4 separate regions of the Homo sapiens genome follow, and all the other regions are linked to region 2. Evidence: promoter capture Hi-C in 16 types of primary human blood cells and fetal thymus (Javierre and others, 2016). All regions are on one chromosome and are shown on one strand. Each heading gives the region's core, a stretch centred on a gene start or on the middle of the fragment in contact. The rest is flanking DNA. Distances are from core to core; before and after follow the strand shown.

Region 1 (2,700 bases), core at 104-2,603, 290 kb before region 2:
TGACCTCGTGATCCGCCCGCCTCAGCCTCCCAAAGTGCCGGGATTACAGGCGTAAGCCACCACGCCTGGCCCAAACATTTAAGTTTTAACATTAAGTTAAAATCTCTCCCAAACTATGTCAGGAAAAAGGAGTTGGAATACTGCTCTATTCATATTATTAGGCCTGCATTACCCTCATTTAATACCTGACAAAGACATAACAAGAAAACCATAGACCGATATACCTCATGGACATACATGCAAAAATGTTTAAGAAAATATTAGGAAATCTAGTAATATAATAAAAGAATCATGTATCATGATCAAATGGTGTGTATGTAAGAAATGCAATATTGCTTTAATGTATGAAAACCAATTAACGTAATTCACCATATGAATAGAATAGAGGAGAAAAAACGTGATCGTCTCGACAGATGCAGAATAAACTATGTGACAAACTTCAACACCTATTCATGATAAAACTTTGAGCAAGTTCAGAATAGAATGAAATTTCTGCAACCTGAAAAAAGACATCTATAAAAAACTCAGAGCTAACATCGTACTAAATTGTGAAAAACCAAGTGCTTTCAACCTTAGAACAGAAACAAGACAAAGATATTCACTCTTATAAAGATAGTTCAATAAGACAAAAAAAAAGGCATAGAGTTTGTAAAAGAAGAAATAAAACTGTCTTTATTTGCAGTCAATATAAGTACATATATAAAACAATCCTAAGGGAATATACAAAGTCTACTGAAACTAATAAGTGATCAAAGCAAGATCACAGGATAAAAGATCAATATGCAATCATCACTTTTATTTCTATATATAAACAGCAAGCAATTAAAAAGGACATTTAAAATACAAATATGTTCACAATAACATAAAAAATTATGAATAAATTTAGCAAAAGGTGTGGAAGATCTATACCCTGATAAATAATGCTGTTAAAATAAATTTTAAAAAGCCTAAATAAATGGACAGATAGGTAATGTTCATGAATTGGAAGACTCAATATTGTTACTGTATCAATAGATTCAATGTAATTTTAATCGGAATTACAGCAAGCATTTTCTTTTAGAAATTGACAAGTGTATTATAAAATTGATATAAAGATGAGATGGATCTAAAGTAGCTGAACAATTTTAAAAAGAAGAGAAAAGTCGGCCAGGCACAGTGGCTCACTCCTATAATCCCAGCACTTTGGGAGGCTGAAGCGGGCGGATCATGAGGTCAGGAGTTCGAGACCAGCCTGGCCAATATGGTGAACCCCCGTCTCTACTAATAATACAAAAAAAATAGCTGGGTGTAGTAGCGCACACCTGTAGTCCCAGCTACTTGGGAGGCTGAGGTGGGAGAATCGCTTGAACCAGGAAGGTGGAGATTGCAGTGAGCTGAGTTCGCACCACTGCACTCCAACCTGGGTGACACAGCGAGACTCCGTCTCAAAAAAAAAAAAAATAAAAATAAATAAATAAATAAATAAAAGAAGAGAAAAGTCAAAGGACTTAAACTACCTGATATGAAGACTGACTATAACACTGCAGTAACCAAGAGAGTGTGGTATGGGGATAAGGAAAGGCACACCAACCGGTGGGACAGAGTCCAGTCCAGAAGTAGACTGACATATGTATAGTCAACTGATCTTTATCAAAGTGCCAAACTAATTAAGTGATGAAAGGATGATGTTTTCAATAAACAGCACTAGAATAGTTTCCATATTGTTGGGGGAAAGGGTCCGGACCCTTTTCTTTTATTGTATACCAAAATTAACTCAAAATGGATCATAGACCTACATTTAAGAGCTAAAATCTTAAAACTTCAAGCAGGAGAAAAATAGAAGGATTGACTTGTGATATTAGGTTAGACAAAAGAAAAATATTAGCAAATTAAATTTCATTAAAATGAAAAATATTTGTTCTTCAAAGGACCCTCTTCAGAAAACAAAATTGGAAAAAAAAAATTTGTAAAACACGTATCCAACAAAGGCCTTGTGTCCTGCATATAAAAAAAACTTACTAATAAGAAGACAAACAATTCAATCAAAAAATGGACAAAAGATTTAAACAGACACTTCACAAAAGAATATATGTAAATAGCCAATAAGTCATTTAAAAGATGCTCAACATCACTGTCAAACAAACCAAAGAAATGCAAATTAAAACAACAAGGAGAGACCAGTATACAAGGAGAGACACTGGGATGGCAGAAATTTGAAAAGCCTGACAACACCAAGCATTGATTGTTATCTACATGAAGGTAGAATAATTGGAACACTCATAATTGCCAGTGGTTAGTTACACTGTTTTCCATATCCATTTTGAAAAAGAAGTTGCAAGTTTCTTATCACATGAAACACACACCACATGTGACTCAGCAATTCCACTCCTAGTTATATAACCAAGAATACATACATACATATATATCTATTTCCACGCAAAGACATTGGGGGCCAAAGTTCATAGCAACATTATTCTTCATGGCTCCAAGCTGGAAATAACCCAAATATTTATAAACTAGTGAAAAGATGAACCAGTTGTTGTGTATCCGGACAACGGAATACTGCTCAGCAAAAAGACGGAATGAACTGTTGATACCTGCAACATGGATGAAACTAAAATATCACACAAAGTGAAAGAAGCCAGACACGGAAGACAACATATTATTCCATTTACACAAAATTCTGGAAAAGGCAAATTATCGTGAAAAAAAGATCAGTTG
Region 2 (2,851 bases), core at 102-2,601:
GCCACCACGCGCGGCCTGGATGTTTGTTCTTAAGAAAATTAGAAGCAGAGGCCGGGGGTGGTGGCTCACGCTTGTAATCCCAGCACTTTGGGAGGCCGAGGCAGGTGGATCGCCTGAGGTCAGGAGTTCGAGACCAGCTTGGCCAACTTAGTGAAACCCCGTCTCTACTAAAAATACAAAAATTAGCTGGGCGTGGTGGTGGGCGCCTGTAATCCCAGCTACTCGGGAGGCTGAGACACAAGAATCACTTGAACCCGGGCGACGGAGGTTGCAGTGGGCCGAGATAGCGCCATTGCACTCCAGCCTGGGCAACAAGAGCAAAACTCTGTCAAAGAAAAAAAAAAAGTAAAAGAAAATAAAATCAGATGCAGAGGCCAGGCAGGAGGAGCTCAGGCCGCACTGCTGTCTTTGCTAGCACAGATTCTTTTTGCTGAACTCTGTACTACTCCTTGTCAGTCCCTAATGTTAATTTAGGTTAAAAGAAATGTAATGCTCGCATCAGTAAAAGCAAGGTCAGACTTTCACCTGAACAGTTTTATTTTTGTTTTGTTCCGTTTTTACTCCGAGGTCAGAATGTCATCAGGCACAATAAAGATAGCTTCTTATCTTCATGGGATTGTGCCCAGAAAGACCAAGCACAGTCTAAACATTACGCGATAAGAAAAAACAAAAAATAGATCAAGTGACCTTGGACAAGTCATCTTACCTCTCGATGGTTTTGTTTTATGAAAGAAGGTGTGTGTGTGTGTGTGTCGATGGGTGTGTGTGTGTGTGTGTCGATGGGTCTGTGTGTGTGTGTGTGTGTGTCGATGGGTGTGTGTGTGTGTGTGTGTGCGTGCGGGGGTTGAGAAGGTTGCTGTTAAGGTTCCCTAGGGCTACCTGCAGCTTTAATATGCGTAGTTAGAATGTCAGGCAGGTTGTGGAGAGTGGGGGGCTGGAGACCCCCGACTTCTCTGAGTGCCAAGCCACACATCAGACACCTTGGAAATAACCCTTCCACGAAGTCCCTACACAGATCCCACCAGGCTGGGCACGGAAGAACAGAAACTGCGAAAAGAAAGGGACTGGATGAGTCCTGGGGAATCACAGCGCCTCCACTTGCACAGGACAAGTGACAGGCAGGTAAATAGGTAGCAGACAGGCAGAGACTCCGAGTCCCCCAGGTGCACCCCTCTCCTGGAAGAGCCCCCGAAAGTACAGGCCCAATCTCCCACCCCACCAAGCCCTCCCCATCGCCTTCCCCGACACCTAAAAGCCCCGGTCCTGCGTAATATTGCGGATCCCTCCCAGCCTCCCGTCCGCTCCTCCTCCCGCGGGGCTCCGCTCAGGGCCGGTCCCCCGCCCCCACGCCGCAGCCCGGGCCAGCGGGGCCCGCCGCGGTGGCGTTCGCGGATGCTGCCGCATTGGCCGCTGCGGCACGGACGGCGCAGCCTCGGGCGCGGCCCGGCACAGGCGCCGGCGGTCCCCGCCAGCTAGCAGCCCGGCGAGGCGCTGGCCCACCCATGGTCCTCGGGCGGCGGCCCCTGCGCCCAGCCCTGCGCGTAGCCTCCGTCTCTCGCCCGGGGCCGCCGAGCCCCCGACACGGGCGAGATGCTGAACGGCGCAGGCCTGGACAAAGCTCTTAAGATGTCCCTGCCGCGGAGGTCGAGGATCCGCTCGTCCGTGGGTGAGCTGGGAGGGGCGCGGCGAGGGAGGGTGGGCCCGGGGCGGGGGCGGCGCGGGGCGCGCCTGCGGTTATGCGACACTGCCCCGCCCGCGCCCCGCTCCCCTCCCTGGGCTCCCTGGGCTCTCTGGGCTGCAGGATCCGCCGACGCGGCGCGCTGGCCGCACGGGGGCTGGGCGTCGCTGCACCTGCGGGGCCAAAAGGCTCCAGGCCGGGGCGAGGTGAGCGGCGGGCGTCAGAGACCCCCGGCTCGTCCCTGTACAGATGTGTGTGTGTGTGTGCGGCCTCCCTGTGCGCGTGCCCGTGCGCCCCTACGCGCGGATGCGGCTCAGGGATGCGACCTAGGCGGCAGTCACCGCGATGGTGGGCACGGTTTGGCGGCGCAGAGAAGATGCAGCCTTCCCTGCCGGCGGCCGGCACCGCTGTGCTGCAGAGCTCAAAAGCAGAGGGGGAAAAAGGCATCCGAAGGGTCCCTCGAGTGATTCTCACCACTTGGAGCCCCGGGTCCTCGCGCGCTCACAGCGGCGACGTACTGGCTCATAACCATCCGTGCATACAACCATCTGGAGACGAACACACACACGCACACGCGCGCGCACACACACACACAGGTACACACACACGTACACACGCACGCGTACACATACCCTGCCTGCAGGCGCCTGGGTGTTGGAACTCGAAACCTAAAGCCAAACACGCATGTACCATACCCGACCACTCACACTGTTAGAGGCCCGCGTTCTATGATTATAGAACACATTTAGAAACTATGATGTCGTGGAGCTGGATGTTATGTGGCTATGACACTTGATAGGGTTACCTAGACCATTAGTTAATGCAGACGTAAAGAGGAGCCCCAAAAATGATTTCTTACCGTTTCAGGACTGCGGCAAGTTTGCAGGTAGATCTTTGACATGAGGAAGGTAGAGGGTGTACAGTTTGGAGCTGGGGTCACTTGTCTTCGTGCTTTTTTATTTGTTTTGAGAAAATAGGCACATAAAAATAAGCGACTTTTGTATTTCTGTAGTTGAGTAACGTGAGAGGGAAGCAAGCTTATCAGGTAATTTAAGCCAATGTTTGTTAAACTTGGGTAAAGTCAGGACACTTTCACATTCATTTTGAGGAGAATCCCAGCCTGAAGGGGTCACGGGGTGCAGGGTCAAGACTAAATAGCAGGGAAGAGCTGTG
Region 3 (2,700 bases), core at 95-2,594, 280 kb before region 2:
CGGTGAACCAAGATCGCACCACTGCACTACAGCCTGGGTGACAGAACGAGACTCTATCTAAACAAACAAACAAACAAAAAACCCTAAAATAAATTATTTGTAACATGAACAGAATGAACAGATCCTCCCCCAAACTGATATTTTTTGTGGGACTGGACCTTTCTTAAAGGATTTTCTTAAATAGAATTATTTCAGATCATCACTTACTTAGATGTGTAGCTATATTAGGTCACAAGATTGTGTACTTATAATCATAAAACGTATACTTAATAATGAATCCCAACCTGACCTCAAAAGACTATATCATATAATACTATATTAACATTACATATTTATTGGTCGGGCACGGTGGCTTACGCCTGTAATCCCAGCACTTTGGGAGGCCGAGGTGGGTGGATCACGAGGTCAGGAGTTCAAGATCAGCCTGGCCAAGATGGTGAAACCCCGTCTCTACTAAAAATACAAAAAATTAGCCAGGCTTGGTGGTGGGTGCCTGTAATCCCAGCTACTTTAGAAGCTGAGGCAGGAGAATCGCTTGAACCTGGGAGGTGGAGGTTGCAGTGAGCCGAGATCGCACCACTGCACTCCAGCCTGGGTGACAGAGCAAAACTCCGTCTCAAAAATAAATAAGTAAAATAAAAATAAATAAATGAAAAATAAAATTACATATTTATTATGTTTTATATTGTTATATAATATAAAAAGTCGGTTTTTCGGGGTTTTTTGTTTGTTTGTTTGTTTGTTTGAGATAGTCTCGCTCTGTCACCCAGACTAGAGGGCAGTGGCGCGATCTCTGCTCACTGCAACCTCCACCTCCCGGGTTCAAGCGATTCTCGTGCCTAGGCCTCCCGAGTAGCTGGGATTACAGGTGAGCACATCAAGCCCAGCTAATTTTTTGTAATTTTAGTAGAGACGAGGTAAAAAGTAGAAAATATTTTATAAAAATATATTTGTGTAAAGTAGAACATATATAAAAACATACTAAAGGAGAAAGGAGAAAAAAATTCTTTCATTTATTTTTTTCCCAGGCATTTTAAATTTGGATTATAAAAATCATTTTAGAAAAATCATTAATGCTCTTTTACAAAATAACCCGGTGAAGCAGCTGAGCCCGAGCCGCCCGCCAGCGGCCCCGCAGCAGCTCCAAGAAGGAACTAAGAGACCAAGGCCTTCCTGCTGCCCGGACCCGACACCGCTACCCTGGCTCCCCGCCGGCAGCCGGCAGCCAGCGGCAGCGGATCGACCCCGTTCTGCGGCCGTTGAGTAGTTTTCGATTTCGGCTGATTTTTGTCCCTCTGCGCTTGCCCCCGCTCCCCTCCCTCCGGCTACGCCCCCGGCCCCGGCACGCGCTCTACTCCTGTAACGGAAAGGTCGCGGCTTGTGTGCCTGCGGGCAGCCGTGCCGAGAATGAACCCCAGCACCCCCAGCTACCCAACGGCCTCGCTCTACGTGGGGGACCTCCACCCCGACGTGACTGAGGCGATGCTCTACGAGAAGTTCAGCCCGGCAGGGCCCATCCTCTCCATCCGGATCTGCAGGGACTTGATCACCAGCGGCTCCTCCAACTACGCGTATGTGAACTTCCAGCATACGAAGGACGCGGAGCATGCTCTGGACACCATGAATTTTGATGTTATAAAGGGCAAGCCAGTACGCATCATGTGGTCTCAGCGTGATCCATCACTTCGAAAAAGTGGAGTGGGCAACATATTCGTTAAAAATCTGGATAAGTCCATTAATAATAAAGCACTGTATGATACAGTTTCTGCTTTTGGTAACATCCTTTCGTGTAACGTGGTTTGTGATGAAAATGGTTCCAAGGGTTATGGATTTGTACACTTTGAGACACACGAAGCAGCTGAAAGAGCTATTAAAAAAATGAACGGAATGCTCCTAAATGGTCGCAAAGTATTTGTTGGACAATTTAAGTCTCGTAAAGAACGAGAAGCTGAACTTGGAGCTAGGGCAAAAGAGTTCCCCAATGTTTACATCAAGAATTTTGGAGAAGACATGGATGATGAGCGCCTTAAGGATCTCTTTGGCAAGTTCGGGCCCGCCTTAAGTGTGAAAGTAATGACCGATGAAAGTGGAAAATCCAAAGGATTTGGATTTGTAAGCTTTGAAAGGCATGAAGATGCACAGAAAGCTGTAGATGAGATGAATGGAAAGGAGCTCAATGGAAAACAAATTTACGTTGGTCGAGCTCAGAAAAAAGTGGAACGGCAGACGGAACTTAAGCGCACATTTGAACAGATGAAGCAAGATAGGATCACCAGATACCAGGTTGTTAATCTTTATGTGAAAAATCTTGATGATGGTATTGATGATGAACGTCTCCGGAAAGCGTTTTCTCCATTTGGTACAATCACTAGTGCAAAGGTTATGATGGAAGGTGGTCGCAGCAAAGGGTTTGGTTTTGTATGTTTCTCCTCCCCAGAAGAAGCCACTAAAGCAGTTACAGAAATGAACGGTAGAATTGTGGCCACAAAGCCATTGTATGTAGCTTTAGCTCAGCGCAAAGAAGAGCGCCAGGCTTACCTCACTAACGAGTATATGCAGAGAATGGCAAGTGTACGAGCTGTGCCCAACCAGCGAGCACCTCCTTCAGGTTACTTCATGACAGCTGTCCCACAGACTCAGAACCATGCTGCATACTATCCTCCTAGCCAAATTGCTCGACTAAGACCAAGTCCTCGCTGG
Region 4 (2,712 bases), core at 1-2,500, 380 kb before region 2:
GTTTCGTTTTTTTAATTTAGCTTTCTGTCTCTGTGCTTGTGCCTTCAACACTTTCACAACGATTTTCTGCTCCTCGATAAGGAAAGCACGCTTGATCCCGTCACGAACACATTTAGTACGCATGGAACCACTACAGGCCCTGCGGACATGTTTCTTTGTTTTGGACAATCTCCTAAGAACTTTAGGTCTTACAGCACGAACCCCTCAAAGTCTGCCTGGGCACACGCTACATGCAGATTTTGGTGCTTTCCCAACCTTCTTGGTATAAAAGTACACAACTCCGTTATCAGGGGTTCGGAGCAGCCTAGTTTTGTTAGAGGCTGTATTGTAGGAAAGCCTACGATAGTAGGTCAAACGCTGGACCATTCTGAGTGCCTGCAGACAACGTTCCCGGAAGCGCTCCCTTGCTCGTTTTTTTTTTTTTTTTTGGCGGGGGATGGAGTCTCTCTCTGTCGCCCAGGCTGGAGTGCAGTGGCGCAGTCTCGGCTCGCTGCAACCTCCGCCTCCCGGGTTCACGCCATTCTCCCGTCTCAGCTTCTGAGTAGCTGGGACTACAGGCGCCGGCCACCACGCCCGGCTAATTTTATTTTTGTATTTTTAGAACAGACGGGTTTTCACCGTGTTAGCCGTGTTAGCCAGGATGGTCTCGATCTCCTGACCTCACGATCCCTGGCCTCGGCCTGGCAAAGTGCTGGGATTACAGGCGTGAGCCACCGCGCCCCACCCTTGCTCCTTTCAACCTGGCGTTTTCCCCCCGCTCATTTTCCAGCCATTTAGGAATCCCGCCTCCATCCGCTGAGCCCTCAAGGCAGTGAGAGAGACTACTTTCCACATCAGCCGCAGCGGAAAACCTGAAAACGCTCATCCCTTACAGATGGACACTCTTCCAGTTTCTGCCTGTTCTTATCCACTTTCCGATAGTTCTTTAAGAAACTTAAAATAGTTTCTTAACTGTTTGAAGAACTATTTAAAGAAGAACTATTTATTAAATAGTTTCTTAACTATTTGAAGAACTATTTAACTGAAGAACTATTTGCCTTCAAATAGTTCTTTAAGAAAACTTTTTTTTTGTCCAGATTTTGTACATCAACACACACACACACACACGCGCACAGACACATATAATTAGGAATGCATCTTGTTTATGTCTCATTCTATAATATGTTACTATCACTCAAAATAGTACAACTCGACCCTAATACGACAACTTTTAATTCTGGTTGGATTCACCAGATTCAATTGTTTATTTATCTGATTTCATTATTTCATGATCTCTCCTTAACATTTCATGAAAAGGTCTTTTGGGGACTTAATGTAAGTGACAACAGAATTCAGTGTGATGAAACCAACCATATATGAAATGAACCAGATGCCATATGCTTAAACCTGTGAATATGTCAACCAGCAATTCACTGGCGCATAAATGTGCAAATGAGGAAACGTTGTTCAAACGCTTCAGCTTGTATTTTACAAAACAGTGTTTAAATATTTGACATAGTTTAATAATATTTTAGAAAAATGGCCTACCTAGTCTGGATGATGTATGCGTTTGCTGGGGTTACTATAAGGAAGTTACACACACTGAGGGCATAAACAGCAGAAGGTTATTGCTGCGTAGTCCTGGAGCCCGGAAGTCCAGGATCAAAGTGACAGGTTTGGATTCTCCTGCAGCCTCTCTCCTTGGCTTGCAGACTTCCCTCTCTACATGTCTGTATCCTAATTGCCTCTTTTTTTAATGTTTATTTTAAGTTCCTGGGTACAAATGCAGGTTTGTCACATAGGTAAACTTGTATCATGGGGGTTTGTTGTACAGATTATTTCATCATCCAGGTATATTAAGCCTAGTGCCCATTCATTATTTTTCCTGATCCTCTCCCTCCTCCTACCCTCCACTCTCTGATAGGCCCCAGTGTGCGTTATTCCCCTCTATGTATCCATGTGTTCTCATCATTTAGCTCCCACTTACAAGTGAGAATATCTGGTATCTGGTTTTCTGTTACGGTGTTAGTTAGCTTAGGATAATGGCCTCCAGCTCCATCCATGTTCCTGCAAAGGACATGATCTTGTTCTTGATTTCTTTCCCTTAATAATACATATTTAATGTTATTCAATGCCTCCTTTTCATGGCATTATAGCTTATTTCCTTTTAGTGCTGATTAATATTCCATCATCTGAATATACCGCAGTTTATTCACCTTCCAAGTTTTGGCAATTATGAATGAAGCTGCTCCAAACATCTGTGTGCAGATGGACTTTTGTATGGACATAAGTTTCCAATTCTTTGGGTAAATACCAAGTACCATAATTGGTGGATTGTATGGTATGAATATATTCAGTTGTATAAGAAGCCACCAGACTGTCTTTGAAAGTGCTTGTTCCATATTGCATACCCACCAGAAATGAGAGTTCCTGTTGCTGTTCCTGTTGGTGTTCATAGTGGAGACAGTGGATTTTAGCCATCTTAATAGATATATAATAGGATCTCATTGTTGCTTTAATTTTCTATTTCCTTTTGTTTTGTTTTGTTTTGAGATAGAGTCTCACTCTGTTGCCTGGGCTGGAGTGCAGTGGTGCAATCTACAACCTCCGCCTCCTGGATTCAAGTGATTCTCATGTCTCAGCCTCCGCAGTAGCTGGGATTACAGGCGTGTGCCACCAGGCCCGGCTAATTTTTGTATTTTTAGTAGAGACGGGGTTTCACCATGTTGGTCA

The links. Contacts are between HindIII fragments. The CHiCAGO score rates a contact against its expected background, and 5 or more counts as called.
Region 1: a contact is called between a fragment that was not itself captured here and the fragment with the promoter of ATP8A2 in region 2, in 1 of 17 cell types (M2 macrophages). The highest score is 5.5, in M2 macrophages.
Region 3: the fragment with the promoter of PABPC3 here is called in contact with the fragment with the promoter of ATP8A2 in region 2 in 11 of 17 cell types (M2 macrophages, M0 macrophages, naive B cells and 8 more); the score reaches 26.4 in M2 macrophages.
Region 4: a fragment that was not itself captured here is called in contact with the fragment with the promoter of ATP8A2 in region 2 in 1 of 17 cell types (neutrophils); the score reaches 6.4 in neutrophils.

Annotation. Positions count from the first base shown.
Region 1 is chr13:25,078,638-25,081,337 of GRCh38, forward strand. No RefSeq gene overlaps it. Among named protein-coding and RNA genes, the nearest start is that of PABPC3, 16 kb to the right of the region's middle. The HindIII fragment of the contact is 8,909 bases long and covers 1-2,700 here.
Region 2 is chr13:25,370,623-25,373,473 of GRCh38, forward strand. ATP8A2 (ATPase phospholipid transporting 8A2) reads left to right here and starts at 1,352. Exons shown (of 37, transcript NM_016529.6): 1 at 1,352-1,666. The coding sequence starts at 1,591. The HindIII fragment of the contact is 3,193 bases long and covers 1-2,713 here.
Region 3 is chr13:25,094,792-25,097,491 of GRCh38, forward strand. PABPC3 (poly(A) binding protein cytoplasmic 3) reads left to right here and starts at 1,345. Exons shown (of 1, transcript NM_030979.3): 1 at 1,345-2,700. The coding sequence starts at 1,408. LOC124900613 (a long non-coding RNA gene) reads left to right here and starts at 829. Exons shown (of 3, transcript XR_941762.3): 1 at 829-868. RefSeq lists a silencer at 1,260-1,554. The HindIII fragment of the contact is 7,788 bases long and covers 1-2,115 here.
Region 4 is chr13:24,988,560-24,991,271 of GRCh38, forward strand. It overlaps the pseudogene RPL34P27. Among named protein-coding and RNA genes, the nearest start is that of CPAP, 67 kb to the left of the region's middle. The HindIII fragment of the contact is 9,045 bases long and covers 1-2,712 here.